Linked DNA regions of Homo sapiens: regions 1, 3 and 4 are each linked to region 2. The links are contacts of gene promoters, found by promoter capture Hi-C in human tissues and cell types (Jung and others, 2019). All regions are on one chromosome and are shown on one strand. Each heading gives the region's core, a stretch centred on a gene start or on the middle of the fragment in contact. The rest is flanking DNA. Distances are from core to core; before and after follow the strand shown. Region 1 overlaps LINC03046 (long intergenic non-protein coding RNA 3046). Region 2 holds the start of LBX1 (ladybird homeobox 1). Region 3 overlaps BTRC (beta-transducin repeat containing E3 ubiquitin protein ligase). Region 4 overlaps BTRC (beta-transducin repeat containing E3 ubiquitin protein ligase).

Evidence for each region. Contacts are between HindIII fragments. The study calls those that stand out against the background at their distance.
Region 1: a fragment that was not itself captured here is called in contact with the fragment with the promoter of LBX1 in region 2 in 1 of the 25 tissues and cell types used here (dorsolateral prefrontal cortex).
Region 3: a contact is called between a fragment that was not itself captured here and the fragment with the promoter of LBX1 in region 2, in 3 of the 25 tissues and cell types used here (IMR-90 fibroblasts, dorsolateral prefrontal cortex and spleen).
Region 4: a contact is called between a fragment that was not itself captured here and the fragment with the promoter of LBX1 in region 2, in 4 of the 25 tissues and cell types used here (lymphoblastoid cells, mesenchymal stem cells, pancreas and 1 more).

The regions. Positions count from the first base shown.
Region 1 is chr10:101,700,863-101,703,562 of GRCh38, forward strand. LINC03046 (long intergenic non-protein coding RNA 3046) reads right to left here. Exons shown (of 3, transcript NR_186546.1): 3 at 1,115-1,433. Among named protein-coding and RNA genes, the nearest start is that of FBXW4, 7.0 kb to the left of the region's middle. The HindIII fragment of the contact is 4,281 bases long and covers 1-2,700 here.
Region 2 is chr10:101,227,980-101,231,009 of GRCh38, forward strand. LBX1 (ladybird homeobox 1) reads right to left here and starts at 1,484. Exons shown (of 2, transcript NM_006562.5): 1 at 512-1,484. The coding sequence starts at 836. LBX1-AS1 (LBX1 antisense RNA 1) reads left to right here and starts at 1,615. Exons shown (of 3, transcript NR_029380.1): 1 at 1,615-1,835. The HindIII fragment of the contact is 30,882 bases long and covers 1-3,030 here.
Region 3 is chr10:101,529,627-101,532,500 of GRCh38, forward strand. It overlaps BTRC (beta-transducin repeat containing E3 ubiquitin protein ligase), which reads left to right. Exons shown (of 15, transcript NM_033637.4): 7 at 1,611-1,707; 8 at 2,669-2,806. Among named protein-coding and RNA genes, the nearest start is that of POLL, 57 kb to the right of the region's middle. The HindIII fragment of the contact is 3,559 bases long and covers 1-2,874 here.
Region 4 is chr10:101,504,472-101,507,248 of GRCh38, forward strand. All of the region lies in intron 4 of BTRC (beta-transducin repeat containing E3 ubiquitin protein ligase), which reads left to right. Among named protein-coding and RNA genes, the nearest start is that of POLL, 82 kb to the right of the region's middle. RefSeq lists an enhancer at 2,421-2,777. The HindIII fragment of the contact is 4,822 bases long and covers 1-2,777 here.

The DNA of each region.
Region 1 (2,700 bases), core at 152-2,651, 470 kb after region 2:
ATCCCTGTAATCCCAGCACTTTGGGAGGCTGAGGCAGGAAGATTGCTTGAGCCCAGGAGTTCAAGACCAGCCTGGGCAACACAGCGAGACCCCCGTCTCTAAAAACTGTAAGAATAAATTAGGTAGGTGTGGTGGTGTATACCTGTAGTCCCAGCTACTCGTGAAGCTGAAGCTAGAGGATTACTTGAGCCCAAAAAGTTGAGGCTGCAGTGAGCCATGTTCATGCCACTGCACTCCAAACTGGGCAACAGAATGAGACCTTGTCTCAAAAAACACTAAAACTTTAAAAATTAAAATAAAATGTGTTTCATGTAATAGTAAAATAAACAACAAGTTAAAAGTCTTAGAAAGGAAAAGAAACAAGAAGTCTCACAGTGAATGCTGTATTTGTAAATATTCAAGCTTCTCAAAAATAGAGGAAGAGACTCTAAAATGTTATTTTCAGAAATTATCTATTGGGTTGGTAGTTTATATCTTGAAGTACCACCAAGATCTGCTCTGGTTTTATATGAATCCATCTTCTTTGCCATATTCAAAGATAAAATATTTTTACCACCTATGAAATAATTTCAAGCAAGTGCTATTTAAAAATAGTTATTTTGGCCAGGCGCGATGGCTCATGCCTGTAATCCCAGCACTTTGGGAGGCCGAGGCGGGTGGATCACAAGGTCAAGAGATCAAGACCATCCTGGCCAACATGGTGAAACCCCGTCTCTACTAAAAATACAAAAATTAGCTGGGCATGGTGGTGCACGCCTGTAGTCCCAGCTACTCAGGAGGCTGAGGCAGGAGAATCCCTTGAACCTGGGAGGTGGAGGTTGTAGAGAACCGAGATTGTGCCACGGCACTCCAGCCTGGTGACAGAGTGAAACTCTGTCTCAAAAAAATAAATAAATAGAAATAAAAATAGTTATTTTATGCAGAAGAAAAAAAACTGGAAGGAAATATGACAAAAAGCTAGAAATGGTTGCTTGTGACAGATGGAATTATGGGTAGTTCTATTTGCTGCTGCTTTATACTTTTCTTGCATTTTTAAAGTCTTGTGCAGTGAGTATGTATTACATAGATAATCATTTTTTAAAAGAAAAAAACCTCAGAGGTATTTACACCTAAATGTAAGAAAGAACTTAATTAAGCTAGTTCATTTTAATATTTTTAAGGAAGGGCTGCATATAGTGACTTTCTTTCAAAGAGTACAATATGGAAAAGGGGGATGGGGAGAGCAACTCGACAGTGGAGAAGCCTGACAAGAACTACCTCAGCCAGGTGATCAAGGTCAGCACCACTAGTCATAAGTCATATTGATAGTAGGTCTTGGTACAATCTGATGAAAATGGCAAGTTCATTAAAACTGGGAAAGCTGAGAAACTGTCACAGCCAAGAAGAGCCACAGGAGACATGATGACTAAAGGTAATGTATTCTGGATGGGATCCTGGAACAGAAAAGAAAAAGGACATTAGATAAAAACTAAGGAAATTGGATCGGTTTGTTAATAATAACAATCATAATATTGTAAAATGTGATAATAGGGGTCTATGGAAACGCTCTACTATCTTCACAATATTTCTGTAAATCTAAAACTGTTCTAAAAAAGTTTTTTAAAGTTTCATCTTAGAATGGGCGTGGTGGCTCATACCTGTAATCCCAGCACGTTGTGGGGCTGAGGAGGGCATATCACTTGAGGTCAGGAGTTCAAAACCACCCTGGCCAACATGGTGAAACCCCATCTCTACAAAAAATACAAAAATTAGCCAGGTGTGGTAGTGGGCACCTGTAATCCCAGCTACTCAGGAGGCTGAGGCTGGAGGATTACTGGAGCCCAGGAGTTGGAGGTTACATGAGCTATGATCCCGCCACTATGCTCCAGCCTGGACAACAGCTGTAAGATGTTTTCCAAAGGGTCACATAACATCATTCCAAGACACTGTCCTAATTTTATAACTGAGAAAAACAGACATTTCCCATCACTAATTTTTATATAAATTATATATGTGTATGCATTTAAATATATGGTATGTAAATGTATAGCTATGTCTACAAAAGTTAAGGACCATATGTCTATAATGAACAGTAGAGTAAGTAAGGAGGTGGGCAGGTGGGCAGGATAGAAATATACAATGTAATTTTTCTGGGGGGAAAAAAAACAGATCTCCAGGGGTTTTGCCAGTTAGTAATGCTGTTATTAGTAGGCAATGGCCTTCTTTGTGTCAACAGTGTACATTCCAAGAGATTTTGAATAAAATATAGAGCATACCATCAGCATTCAGATCTAAGATTAAATTCTTGTATTGCCATTGCCATGTGACATCAGATTTTGTGATTTTTCTAAGCCGGGCGTGGTGACTCACACCTGTAATCCAAGCACTTTGGGAGGCCAAGGCAGGCAGATCACTTGAGGTCAGGAGTTTGAGACCAGCCTGGCCAACATGGTGAAACCCCGTCTCTACTAAAAATATAAAAATTATCTGGGCATGGTGATAGGCGCCTGTAATTCCAGCTACTCAGGAGGCTGAGGCAGGAGAATCGCTTGACCCTTGGGAGGTGGAGGTTGCAGTGAGTTGAGATCATGCCACTGCACTCCAGCCTGGGAGACAGACCTTCTCCAAAAAAAAAAAAAAAAAAAAAGGTTTTGTGATTTTTCTGGTCTCTGCCAGTCAGAAGACTGAGTCATTTGGTAACAGATGATAGAAGATAAAAAA
Region 2 (3,030 bases), core at 234-2,733:
CTCCCAGAAGTCCCTAGGAAAAATTGTTTTGGTCTCTGCCCCCTACCTAAGAGTTGGTTTGAAAGACCCAAAGTCTCTAAGGGTATGAGAAAGCCAGACAGAGACACCCTAATTGCGGTGTGAATGTTGGTTCTCCATCCCTTCCCAATCACTTCAACTCTACCCTACCCATAAGGTCCCCGGCAAAAGACTCTCGATTCCCCACGCCGAGTAGCCGGGCTAAGAGCGCCCAGGACACTGGGAACGCAAGGGAGCCCGGCAAAGCAAGCAGACTGCGGAAAGAGCTTGGCCACCCTTCTCCTGCCACCCCCCAGCTCTGGCCTACCCAGAGGTCCCTGGGAAATAAGGATTGGGTCCCGTCCCACATATCTTCACTCCCATAAGCAGCTGCTCAGGCTGGAAGGCCCTGGCGGCCGGAGAGGGCAGAGGCGAGCAGAGGCATAGGGGACGAAGCGCGCAGGGCACAGGGCGCGAGGCGCTGGGTGCAGGGGAACCCAGCAGCTGCGCCTACCTTCGGCTGCCTGCAGAACGCTGACCTCCAGCCCCTTAAACGTCTTGCTGGCGAGCTCCTCCAGCGCGCACAGCGGCGAGGTCTGCGAGAGCAGCGCGCGGCCCGCCAGGGGCAAGCCGCCCTGCGCGTGCTTGTCCGCGGCGGCCAGCAGGTGCGCCGCCCCGCACAGCGAGTAACTTCTCCGCACAGACGGCTTGTTGAGGATGTCCTCGATGCTGAACGGCGTCAGTGGCTTGTTGGAGTTGGCAGGCGGAGGCAGGTGGTCCAGCGGGCTGCGCCGCCGCTCCTCCCCCGGCGCCGCCTTGCCGTCCTCCTTGGAAGTCATCTCGGCCTTGTTCGGGGTCCCGGCCGGGGCGGCTCGGGCCGCGGGGACCCAGCCCGCGGGCAGCTCGGGCGCCGGACGGCGCGGGCAGGCAGCGGCGGGTGGAAAGGAGGCCGCACTGGGCAGGGCGCGGGCCGGGCGCGGGGCCGATTAGCGCGGCGGCTGAGGAGGGGAGAACAGCGCGGGGCCCCGGGAAGAGGGCGCTGACGCGGGCGCCGCTGCTGCTGGGGCTTCCAGCAATCCGGGGCCGGAGCCGGGGCGCGCTGCGCGGGGCTCCAGTTTCGCCAACCCCGGTGCTATTTAAAGGTGTCAGGTGGCTCGGCAGTGGCTCCTGGCCCCGGGTCCTGGCGGCCGCAGTTGGAAGAGCCGAGGCGAGGGCGCCGATCCCGGACTGCGAGGGAGGCGGAGAGACGGGGCAATTGACTATTGCTAACAAGTTAGCCTTGATCGCGGTGTAATCAATTATCTGCAGCGGCACTTCTTTCTCTTTCTCTCTCCTTTCTCCCTTTTTCCTCTCTTCTTTGCCTCTGTTCTCTCCTCCTGTTCTCGCTCTCCCTCCCTCCCTCTCTCTTCTCTCTTCTCTGCTCCCCCCTTCTCTCTCCTTCTCTCCCTCTCCCTCGCCCTCTCTTTCACTCTCTGTCTGTCCAATGCAGGCGGCTGTAAGTTGGGAAGCTCATTAATTAGCGGGCCGGGGGTAGGAGGAGCCGGCTGGAATTAGCCTGCCTAATGCGCCTGTCAGTCCGGGCGCTGCGCTGCGTTCGGCCCGAGCTGTTTGTAAATTACATTAGCTGCTCCTTTATTGCACCCGAACCTCGGGCGACTGAAAAGCCACCGCCCCCACCCCAAACTGCGAGCCGCGCTCCTGGCGCACCCGCCTCCCGCCGGCCTAGCTGCAATGACCGCACCGGCCCGAAGGTCTCGGTCTCTCCGACCCGGGATGTGGAGCCCGAAAGAGTGGTGGGAACCCCAGCCCGGGAGGGACGCGGCCGCCGCTCGGGCCAGGTAGGACCAGGAGCCCGGGTGGGCCCCGCTGCCACCCAGAGTGGACTTTGCGGAGCTGAGATCAAGAGCCCAGCGCCTCTACCTCTGACCCTCTTGCCCCTCACCCCACTGCCTGGGCGACGCGCCTGGGGAGAGGGAATCTGAAGCCCTCCTGCGCTGGCCCGCAGGAGGTCAGAGCCGGCTGCGCAGCCTTGGGTGGGCGACGCGGGAAGGGGGTGGAGGACCCCAGGGGTTGGGGGAGGGGGCTAGTCGGAGAGCTCAGCCTTCTCCACGCGGAGAGGCGGAGGAGGGAATTGTTGGCGGCTCTGGACGCCTCTCCCCGGCCTGATTCCGAAGCGGCCGCCCTACCTCCTCCGGCAATCTTGCTCACTTTCCTCCGGCAGCCGCTCCCCAGGCTGGCTGGGGCCACCAACGGCCTGATGATGGGCGTCTGAAGAGTAGCCAGGCCAGGTGCCGGGGCTAACGGGGCCGGCTCCGTGCCTCCCTGCTGCGCTCCGCCCGGGCCCCGGCCGGGGCCCCGCTGCCGGCCCCGCCTAGCCCAGCGCCCGGCTTGAGTGCATGGCCAGGCCGACTCCAGCTGTTCCGGATGCGGGGCGGGGGCCCGGCGGGAGCCAGGCCGCGGCTGGGGCTTTGCTCTCAGGAACTCGCAGGGAGGCCAGGCTTCCAGTTAGGCTGGGGCTAAAGACCTTAGGGCCCGGGATCTGTGAATATCGGGAGAACATGTTGTGTGCATTGTTACTTGAAGGTGTTTGTGTTTTTGAATGTGTGTTTGTGTGTGTTTCTCCATGCGTATATTTGTGTAAATGTGTGTGAACCTGTGGGTATATAGGTGTGTTTGAACTCAGCTATTTCTTTCATTTCCCTGAGGCATTCCAGCAGGGCTGTGCCCTCAGGCCTTCCTGTCTTGCTACCCCATTCTGTTTATGTGGGGCCACTGGCCTCCTTACTAATTTTCCATTTCTGCCCTTGGAGAAAGGAGGGGAGGACCTAGAGGGGGTTGGAGTCCAGGGAGAAGGGCTGTTCCCCTCCCACACACACACAGCCCTGGCCCTGGCTTTGTTTGTAAACTCCTGGGTGGGCGGTGAGGTTGGGCATTGGGCAGCACCGCTTGGACCAGAAAAGGGCCCAGAGAGGCCAAAGTGAGGATTTGTGGCCCAGGCCAAGGGTTGGAATGGGAAGATTAGGATTTCTTGCC
Region 3 (2,874 bases), core at 6-2,505, 300 kb after region 2:
TGTTTCATTAATCCCCCTTTTTATAAGTATTATTTTCACTTCTCTATTTCAGATTTTCTTTTCTGTATTAACACAGAAGTTAGAGCCATCTACCTTCCTGATAGGAAATTTTCTCAACTAATTTTCAGGGTATATAACAGGGAGAGGGCAGGGGAGAAACACTCCTGGAGACACCAAACAATTAATTATATTGTAATGGAGCTATAGAGGGAGGAGTGGATGACTGGCCCAGAGAAAACATGATTTCTCTGGTGCCAGGATTACACTCAGAGGCATTTCTGCCTCTCTCCACTTTGCAAGGCACGGTGCCAGTGAGAACAGCAGTTAGTACACCCATAGTGGGGTTTACTAGCTTCCACACCGTGTTTGGTGGGTTCTTAACTTCCGGATGAGGAATTAAATTTTTTACCCAGCAGGAAGTGATTGCCATTTACTGATTTTTTTTTTGTAGCAAAGATCTAGCTTGGGATACGAGTATTCCAGAGATGTGCTGTCATAAGGAAGGAGATACTAACAAATGTTGCTCACTGGAATCAGGGAAGGCAGTTAAGTACATGTGTATGTACACAGCCAGGAACACACCTGTGAAAGTCAGTTTCATGCCTTAGACTTGATAGCAGTGCTCTTAGGCATTTCTTTTTTTTCTTCTTCCCTAGCTGCTGCTGGACACACCTGTGATCCTTTTGTTTTCTGATGAAATGAACTGAATTGCTCCTTTCAAAGCATAGTTGCACTGATTAGCAGCAGCCTGGGTGACTGAGCAGCCACCACACCTTACCCTGTACAAATAAAGACCTAGCAAAAGTGATCTCCATGCCAGAGGCATTGCTGCTGTCTACAATGCTGGGGACCACTGACACAGTAAAAGGGAAAAAAAAAAAAACCTATAGGGCATGTGCTAGTTCAAAGGTAATAGTTACCATTACTAACAAAATTTCCAAAAGATGAGGCCAGTGAATCTAAGCAGTAGTCTTAATAGAGCAATAGATGAATTCTGATTGTACATATTCCATTTGTTTACTGATATTATAATATTCCTAAAGGCTTGGTACTCCGATGTTCTACACTGGAAATAATCATGTTTTACCCAAAAGCAAATCAGTGTTGGTCAGATTCTTTAGAGCCCAGAAGGTTACTCTTTGACATGGGACTCCTGAAATCAGGCTTACCTTTGCTCCTCCGCAGACAGCTATGGAGAGTATATGGAATGGTAACCGTGAAAACACTTTCAAAATATATGAAGTTCCTTATAAATATATAATGTCGGCCGGGTGTGATGGCTCACGCCTGTAATCCCAGCACTTTGGGAGGCCAAGCAGGCGGGTCATTTGAGGCCAGGAGTTCAAGACCAGCCTGACCAACATGGTGAAACCCCATCTCTACTAAAATACAAAAATTAGCCAGCATGGTGGCAGATGACTGTAATCACAGCTACTCAGGAGGCTGAGGCAGGAGAATCACTTGAACCCAGGAAGCGGAGGTTGCAGTGAGCCAACATCACACTGCTGCACTCCAGCCTGGGCAACAGAGCGAGACTCTGTCTCAAAATATATATGTATTTAAATATATAATGTCATGATTTTCACTGGGAAATATTTGTTATTTTTTAGGGGACAGTATTTATTCAAAAACAAACCTCCTGACGGGAATGCTCCTCCCAACTCTTTTTATAGAGCACTTTATCCTAAAATTATACAAGACATTGAGGTAAGAATCTATGTATTTTGGGGTATTGCCCAAGGGCACAGAATTATCAGCATTCTTCAGTCACAGTATGGTTACAGCAAGCCCATTAAGGTTTATTGACATGAGTTGGGAATCAATCTCTTAGCTGGCCATGGTGGCTCACACCTGTAATCCCAGCATTTTTGGAGGCTGAGGTCAGGAGTTTGAGACCAGCCTGGCTAACATGGTGAGACCCCTGTCTCTACTAAAAATACAAAAATTAGCCAGGCATGGTGGCACACACCTGTAATTCCAGCTACTCAGGAGGCTGAGATAGGAGAATCACTTGAACCTGGGAGGCACATGTTGCAGTGAGCCAAGATCGCACCACTGCACTCCCTCCTGAACGACAGAGCGAGACTCCATCAAAAAAAAAGAAAAGGAAAAGAAAATCAATCTCTTTACAGGCGAGTAGGGTAGGTAAAATAAATTGCTAGGCAAAATTTTAAAGCTTTAAAAAATGGTTTACTAATAAGTAGATGAGAGAGTTAAAGAGATTGATCCCTTCATACATAGCAGTGTGACTGGTAAACTTGTACTCATAAGCTCATATTTAAATATCTTCTGAATTGAACCTCCTTAGAAGTTCATCAGTAGCAATCAGTAGCAATGGCCATCACATATGTAAGAGCACTGAGTGTATAACCTCACGTAGTTCGTAGCTTTTCTTCTCTTGATGAGTAGTCTCTTTCCACCAGATTTATTATTTAATTGAACAAATTATAGGCAGGGAAGTTCTAGGAAACAACCTTTAATTACCTTGCAAAAGGAAGAATATTTTATAAATATAGATAGTAGCCTTTTAAAGACATTTTTTAGTTTTCCCTAAGTTGTGTATATCCCATAGAGTAAAGCATTGAGCCATTGATTGTCATTAAAGCCTAAAAAGAGTTTGATTCTAGGTGTTTCCTAACACTGCCTCTTTCCCATTCCTTCTTCTCAGACAATAGAATCTAATTGGAGATGTGGAAGACATAGTTTACAGAGAATTCACTGCCGAAGTGAAACAAGCAAAGGAGTTTACTGTTTACAGTATGATGATCAGAAAATAGTAAGCGGCCTTCGAGACAACACAATCAAGGTGAGGTCTATTCAGTTGTAGAAAGGTAGCAGAGGGAGCAAGAGTGACCACATTCATAGCGCAGTCTA
Region 4 (2,777 bases), core at 41-2,540, 280 kb after region 2:
CCCCATCCCTATCTTTCCCCTAGACCTGCTTATCCCTCTTCCTTCATCCTTATCCCATCTCTCACCAACCCCACTGCCTAGTATCCACTGTCCTTTCCCCAATCCTCGGTCACTTTTGTCATTCCTCTTCCTCTTCTACCCTCTTCTCTAGCCCTAGCCCTTCCTCTCCTTGCGTTCCTCCTTCTGCTTTCCCATTTTCCCCCTTCCATTTCCCTTTTCTTTCTCTCCTCACTTTCTCTCCCTTTGACTCTCTTTCTTTTCTCCTCTTTCCTCCCCTCCTTTCAGCTCCCCTCATCACAATAACCTATAATTCTCTGTCCTCCAGGATCAGATCTTGACTTCTCTAACAGCAAAGATTAATTTTGCTTGCTCTGATCAATTTGATATTATGAACAAAGAATTCTCTAGATGGCACAGATACACTCCCCCTCCCCCATATTCTTCAAATATTTGACTAATAAATTTTAAAAAAATTTTGTTTTCTTTTTGAGATGAAGTCTTACTCTGTCACCCAGGCTGGAGTGCAGTGGTACAATCTCAGCTCACTGCAACTTCTGCCTCCCGTGTTCAAGCAATCCTCCTGCCTCAGCCTCCCAAGTAGCTGGGATTACAGGCGTGCACCACTGCACCTGAGTATATATTTATATATATATATGTGTATATATATGTATATATATATGTATATGTATATATATATATATATATATTTTTTAGTAGACACGAGGTTTCACCATGTTGGCCAGGCTGGTCTAAGACTCTTGACCTTAAGTGATCCGCCTGCCTCAGCCTCCCAAAGTGCTGGGATTACAGGCATGAGCCACCATGCCTGGCCGTTGACTAATACATTTTTAAATAAACAGAAAGATGGCCGGGCGCGGTGGCTTACGCCTGTAATCCCAGCACTCTGGGAGGCCGAGGCGGGCGGATCATGAGGTCAGGAGATCAAGACCATCCTGGTTAACACGGTGAAACCCCGTCTCTACTAAAAATTCAAAAAAATTAGCCGGGCGTGGTGGCAGGCGCCTGTAGTCCCAGCTGCTCAGGAAGCTGAGGCAGGAGAATGGCGTGAACCTAGGAGGTGGAGCTTGCAGTGAGCAGAGATTGTGCCACTGCACTCCAACCTGGGCGACAGAGCGAGACTCCGTCTCAAAAAAATAAAAAAAAAAAAATAATAATAAAAAAACAAATATACCCACCAAAATGTGAACATTATGTCTTTGTTGATAGTTGAAATTATGGGCAATTTCCATGTTTTTTGTGTATCTGAATTTTTCATATTTACTAAAATGTGTCTACTGTAAATGCTATTTTTAGAAAATGAATTAAACATTCTTTGCTTGACCCCCCCCATAGATCTTTATTTAATCAAAGTGAAAACAAAATGACTCAGATTTGATCCTTTTTGAAGATGAATTTGGTTTGCTATTTTGATGTTCAGTTTTCCAATTTTTTTTTTTTTTTGAGACGGAGTCTCGCTGTGTCGCCCAGGCTGGAGTGCAGTGGCACAATCTCAGCTCACTGCAACCTCCGCCTCCAGGATTCAAGCAATTCTCCTGCCTCAGCCTCCCATTAGCTGGGACTACCGGTGCCGGCCACCATGCACTGCTAATTTTTCTATTTTTAGTAGAGACGGGGTTTCACCATGTTGGTCAGGCTGATCTCGAACTCCCAACCTCAGGTGATCCGCCGCCTCAGCCTCCCAAAGTGCTGGGGTTACAGGCGTGAGCCACCTGTAGTTTTCGCGCCTGGCTAGTTTTCCAAATTTTTTTACCTTTCAAAATGGGTGGCCCTTTGAACTGAAGCATGAAGCCATCAGCTCATTGGCACTATTGTAGCACATGGTGAATGTTAAATACAGTTGCTCAAGTTAGGCTTCAACTCTAAGTCCTATAAGACCTTTCCTGCCTTTCTCTGTCCTCCCAAAATTTAGCTCATGTTTTTTTGTAATATTTCAATATTAGAGTGTTCAGTCTGATAGACTTGGCAATTTTTATACAGATTTGTTTTCAGCCCTGTTATCAGTCTTGGGGGTGGGGAGGACAGGCATTGATGAGCAGCAGTTCTATTATATACCTTGTTTATTGTCCTTGGTAGTGTTGGTTATAAAAAGTGTAACAGTCATGCTGTACCAAGCCAAGATGCCAACTCTGCCATAGTTAAATGTTAAAATTCCAAGCTCAGATTCAAAATTGACTGAAAGGAAATCTTTCAGCAGACTATTTCAATCTCAGTTGACTAACCCTAGGTATGCAAGGTGGATGGCAAGGCTAGATGAAGTGCTCTAAACAACTGAAGTTTACTTATTTCCTAGCTATAGTGTACTCATTGTTTCACAAAGGGTTAAATTATGTAGTTAGTGAATGCTTTTCTAGCTGCAGGGGTTTTTGAAAAGAGATCTAGGAATTCTGCAGTTAATTGAATTCTTCAGGCATGGACTCAGGGTCTCTGAAAAAATTTGAGTGAGCAAAATTCTCTTGCTTTGCTCCTAGATATAGTTCATACCATGTCTTAGGAATCCAGAATTATTTTTTGAAGGATTTTATGCCTATATATGCTGACTGAACATTTAATAAGATAACCACGACATTTTAAAAGATTTTATACAATGTACTTGTTTCCTTGCATTGCCCTTCTCCCTGTTTTTTCTTCTCTTACTTCCCCAAGTCTGTATCACTGGGGCTTTTTTCCCATTTTTTCCCATCTTGTGAGCAAAGTTTTAACAGTACGTAGAAAGTTAACTGCCTGGAGTCTTTTAAATATAAGTAACACGCAACCAG